Linked DNA regions of Homo sapiens: region 1 is linked to region 2. Evidence: promoter capture Hi-C in 16 types of primary human blood cells and fetal thymus (Javierre and others, 2016). All regions are on one chromosome and are shown on one strand. Each heading gives the region's core, a stretch centred on a gene start or on the middle of the fragment in contact. The rest is flanking DNA. Distances are from core to core; before and after follow the strand shown. Region 1 holds the start of MIR181A2HG (MIR181A2 host gene). Region 2 has its middle 110 kb from the start of GAPVD1.

Region 1 (2,795 bases), core at 278-2,777, 710 kb before region 2:
AAGTTAGTGTTTAACAGGTAGGTAGAGAATTTCAGTTTTGCAAGAGGAGAAGAGTTCTGTGGTGGATGGATGGTGGTGAAGGCTGCAAAACAACGTGAATGCACTTAACACCACAGAACTATACACTTAAAAATTATTACAACAGTCAATTTTATGTTACATATACCTTACCACAACTTAGAAAAAAAAAAGATTGTCTTGTGGCTTACAAAAAGCAAGAGAGTGCTCATCTCCTCTTCTTTCGAACATTCTTATATCTAATAGTGCATCAAAACAGCTTTTCTCGGGTTAAGACAAGAGAATAATTCTGGGGTAGTCCTCATATGGAAGGTGCTGCATAATATAGTCAACATCTAAAAAATTCCAAGTACAAACATCCAAACCCAAAATTTACAGCAAAAGAGACAGATGGAATTATTTCAACAACTGTGAGAAAGGCAAGAAATAAACAGAACTATTGGTATGTTTAAGTATCAATTTAGGACTCTATAAGCTAATTTCTAAAGAGACAAGAAAGTCCACGGAAAAAAATGATTGGTCCATGTAGAGTAGATTTCATATATCAGAGTCAAGGTCTCACAAAACAACTTTACTGTTTTGAAACTTTAAAGAAGTGTCAACTTGCATTAAATAAACAAAGCAACTGCCATGTACTAAACAAAAATGTCACAAATGACAGTCCTGTATAATGACCTGGTTTCCCAGTGGCTCAGAAAGATGGAAAATAAACCCCAAGGACCCTAGTTCAGACAGACTGAAGAGAGCAGACCGTGGCTGTCTTGCATGATTAAAGGCTATGTCACAGCTCAGTAGGGTCCATGCTTTCATAGCTTCCCCCCCCCAGCAACCCCTAATGTGACTAGGACTGGGACAAGAGTGACAGTCTCACAAAGGGGATAAAAAGACATAAAGCTTCTTCCTCATACATCCAAACACTCCAGAATCTAAAACTTCACTTCTCTGTTGTCCATCTATCCAATTTTCATTAAGAGCAATTTATATCATATAGAGGCTTCAAAGTCAAATATGCCACTTTTATTTTTACCTTATCAAACCTATAAAATCAAGACCAAGGGTTGGTCTGGATATGAAGCTTGGTTAGGATCACAATAAATTTTCAAATCAAATAATTGGTTTCAGTTAGAGCCAAGTTTATCAACAATAGGGTGATTTAGGATTCAGGAAAAATCGGCTGCCTATTTGTATTTCAGAAAGACTAGTATTTCTTCTGACACAAGTAGAGAGGTGTAAGCAACCTCTGGGTGGGTAATGCCACCAAACAAAAGCAACACCTTCAAAGTCTCTCAGTGACTAGAGGCAGCCAGACACTCAAACTGCCAGTCCTGAATTACGGCCTCTGAATGGTGAGGGCTTCACATTTCACCGATCAGGGCACAGCCCAATCAGAAGACAAACCCCTGCACTGCCAGGGACCAGCAAATCCGCTTTCTTCCAGTGTGCACATGACTAAATGTGCTTCTGTCCATCATCTGGGTCATATATAGTTCAATGCGAGCTGAGCAGACAGGGCTGCAAGGAAATCTGGCGCGGTTCAATACCTCGTCTAGCCTGGGTTCCAGTATCTAATTTTTTTTTTGTTTTAACTGACAAACTCATTTCTCTACTGGGACAGGATGCTGTGCTGGCTGGAAGTTCCATTTCTACAGCAAGAATCCTATCTGGAAACACAGAAGTTGTCCTCTAGCCACAGCAGCTCGAACTTTTTTGATTGTCGTTGCTGCTTTCTCCCATCACCCCCATCCCCTTTTGACAAAGATCCAACTGTAAAAAGTCTTACGTAACAGTTCAGGACTACTTCGGTTCTTTTACTGGGTAAGCACTTTCAATTTTTTTTTTTTAACTAAAAGCCATTTTAAAATTGAATCTGTTGAGGGGCTTGACTAAAATCTTTTAAGTAATTTGTGTAATGGAATACTGTCAGTGGATTTTTTCGTCTCATTTCTGCACGTGCTCCTTTGTTCTCAGAACAGAAGCTTTTTATACACATCCCATAACGCAGCTGGAGAGAGTTATGAAGTCAGTTATTATAAGGAACACAAAGGTTGCTTTCCATTCTTTGCCTTTAGATAATTAATTTTTTTGTTTTCTTAAAATGGAGTATTTAAAGAAGGAAGAAATTCACAAGAAATAAACTGTTGGAGAATTTAGAAAAGTTTGAAGTTTTTACCACCTTTTCTATCTCTAGTTTTGTGTGGCCAAACACTTGTGCCGCCTGGGGCGGTGGGGGTAGAGGCAAGCATAGACAGAGAGGAACTAAGCCAGACATGGACAAAGGCACGAGCCAAAACCAGACAGTCCTGGCCGTTCGATAGGCCAGCAGTGGGTGAGACAGGTCAGCCAGCTGCAGGGGCGGGAGCGGGGGGGCGGGTAGGGACATGGATGTGTGAGGTGCTCATGCGTGCGATCGTGACTAGATTCTGAAACTGCCAGCCATTTTCCCAGCTCCGCTTTGTGCAATCTAAAGGAATGCATCCCCTCTGAAGCAGTCTTGCCAGAGCCTAGTGAGGGAGAGAAGTATGGTAAATACCACAACATATGGAATCAGAAAATACCGGGAACTGGAGTGGGCAAGGGGGAATGCAGAGGGTGTGGAAATTTTTTAGTGATCTGGAATGTGTTGAGTGACAGGAAGTGCCCCAAGCTTCTCCCCCACCAACTCTTCTCAGTCGCGCCTGCTTTTGTCTAACTCTTGTAATCTACACACTACTGCTTACAAAGCTGTCTGAGTTTAAGACAAAAAGAAACCTAAAAGTCTCCTTACTTCATAGTACCTG
Region 2 (2,700 bases), core at 131-2,630:
AGGTGGGGTCTCGCTATATTGCCTAAGCTGGTCTTCAACTCCTGGGCTTAAGCTATCCTCCTGCCTCAGCCTCCAAAAGTGCTGAGATTACCGGTGTGAGCTACCGCGCCTGGACATTATTAATCTTTTATTGTTATAATAGCTTAATGGGAGAAGAAAAGATTGTGGTCTATGCATGTATGAAAATTAAGAAGATCATGTTGTAGATTGATTTGCAGGATTTTTTAAAGGCGCCCTGCCTTTTTTCCTCAGCGGGGTTCTTGAGCATCCATCGGTGATCGGTGGTCGCTTCTCGCAAATCTTCTGTTTCATTTATTTTGGTTGCTAAGTAGGGAGATCCACCTTTATCTGGGTGATTCAAAATCACGATTCTCCTGTGAGCTGCTCTAATCTTAGCCTTGCCAGCAGGTGAACTTACACCTAAAATAACACTAGCTTTTCTCCTACTCATTTTCTGTTCAAATCCTCCTTTGTAATAGGATGACAGGCTAGGAGTTCAAAGGTTCTCTACTGCTTCTGTGATCCTTGTTCTAGAGGTTTCCAGGACTGCGACGCACAGCGACCTGCAAAGGCAAGAGCAGCAGCACCCAGCCCTGCAGCTGTCACAGTTCTTGCCAGTCCCTGCTGGTTGGTATCTGCGTCTGACTGAGGCATTTGGCCAAGGGCGGCAAGTACTCAGTGGGGTGCAGCCCCTTGATGGCAGGGGTGATGCCACCATGGACAGCCAAGAGAACCCATTTTTTTATTTTATTCTAGATTCAGGAGGTACCTGTGCTTGTTTGTTACATGGGTATTACATGCATAATGATGGGGTTGGGTTCCTAGCCTACCCATCACCCAAATATTGGACACTGTACCCAGGAGGCAGTTTATCAACTAACAGGCTGGGTTGTGAGCTCAAGTCCCTTTCCACTGTGGTCATAAACAGTAACCACAGTGGAGTGATTCCTGACACATGATGCCTTTCTGGGTCCAGATACTTTCATCCCTATGTGCCCCACCCTACACGCCTCTTTGTCACTCATGCCTGCCGCTGCCCAGCCTTCTTCCCTGGCCCAGGCTCTGGATTGCCCAAACCTCCTGAGGGGCCCTTGGCAAATGTCTCTTTTGTGTTGTGCGTGTGTGTGTGGCAGGGTCTCACTTTGTCGCCCAGGCTGGAGTGCAGTGGCACAATCTCGGCTCACTGCAACCTCTGCCTCTTGGGTTCAAGCGATTCTCCTGCCTCAGCCTCCTGAGAAGCTGGGACTACAGGTACACGCCACCATGCCTGGCTAATTTTTGTGCTTTTGGTAGAGACAGTGTTTCACCATGTTGGCCAGGCTGGTCTCGAACTCCTGACCTCAAGTGATCTACCCGCCTTGGCTTCCCAAAGTGCTGGGATTACAGGTGTGAGCCACCGCGCCTGGCTGGGAAATGTCTCTTAAACCTGTCCCCCGCTGCCACAGCCAGTTTTTCCACCTCCACAATCACGACTGACTCCTAGTCTCCCTGCCTCCCTCTCACCCCTTCTCCTAGGTGCCCTTAGAATTCATCAAGTCTGGCCAGGCACGGTAGCTCACACCTGTAATCCCAGAAATTTGGGAAGCCGAGGTGGGTGGATCACCTGAGGTCAGGAATTCGAGACCAGCCTGACCAACATGGAGAAACCCCGTATCTACTAAAAATACAAAATTAGCTGGGCGTGTTGGTGAATGCCTATAATCCCAGCTACTCGAGAGGCTGAGGCAGGAGAATCACTTGAACCCGGGAGGCGTAGGTTGCAGTGAGCCAAGATCACGCCATTGCACTCCAGCCCGGGCAACAAGAGCAAAACTCCACCTCAAAAACAAACAAACAAAAAAATTCATCAAGTCTGAGCAGATTCCTCTTCTGCCTAAAATCTTCTCTTTTCTACCTGGGTTCTGTCCTGCCTTTTCAGCCACATGCCTCTGGTCCTTCTCCTTCCCCTCCAGCCAGCCCCACTCCAGCCACTGAGAACTATCACCTTTCCCAAAGTGCTGCCCTTTGCCGGCCTCTAAGCCTTTGCTGATGCCCAGATCTGACTGCCTCCCCCACAGTCCTTCCTCCTGCCTCAGATGGCCCTTCTGGAGGAAAACCCCAGGTGCCCCCTCCTGCCTCCCTCCTCAGTGAGGCCTCACCCCCATCCCTCCCTCTCCAGAGCAGTGTCTCCCTGGAGCCTGTGCTCCTAGGGGAGGGCATGCCTCCAAATGGCAGGTGTCCCTAATGTTTGCAGATGGGGATGGATGAGAGGCAGAAAGTAGCCCTTCAGGGCGGGGATTCCACCATCTTTTCCTTCCAAATTCAGGCCCTGCTGGGACAGGAACTATCCCTGTCGTGGTCCAGGGCCAGGTAGTTCTTCACGTCCTCTGGGAAGACAGAGTGCCCCAAAGCCCTTGATCTCCAGTGGGTAGAATTAGGTGGGGCAGAGGCTGTGCCACACCAGGTCACACCTCTCCTGTGTCTGCTCCCACCCCACCAAGCACAGGGCCGGGATGAGGATGCCTGGAGCCCAGCTCAGTGCCTGCCTGGGTTGCAGCCCTGATCACACCAAAGTGTCTTGTCTGTTTGCAGCCCTTTATCTGGCTAGCAGGGTTTAATTTTACTCTGGGAAGGTGGGATTTTTGTCCCTATTTACTTATTATTTTCGAATTTATTATCTTTAGGTGGCATCTACAAATCGGCGTCCTCTGAGGGCAACAG

What was found. Contacts are between HindIII fragments. The CHiCAGO score rates a contact against its expected background, and 5 or more counts as called.
Region 1: a contact is called between the fragment with the promoter of MIR181A2HG here and a fragment that was not itself captured in region 2, in 1 of 17 cell types (naive CD4 T cells). The highest score is 5.3, in naive CD4 T cells.

The regions. Positions count from the first base shown.
Region 1 is chr9:124,656,909-124,659,703 of GRCh38, forward strand. MIR181A2HG (MIR181A2 host gene) reads left to right here and starts at 1,528. Exons shown (of 2, transcript NR_038975.1): 1 at 1,528-1,833. All of the region lies in intron 2 of NR6A1 (nuclear receptor subfamily 6 group A member 1), which reads right to left. RefSeq lists enhancers at 1,575-1,694, 2,516-2,565. The HindIII fragment of the contact is 901 bases long and covers 1,092-1,992 here.
Region 2 is chr9:125,372,051-125,374,750 of GRCh38, forward strand. No RefSeq gene overlaps it. Among named protein-coding and RNA genes, the nearest start is that of GAPVD1, 110 kb to the left of the region's middle. The HindIII fragment of the contact is 3,508 bases long and covers 1-2,700 here.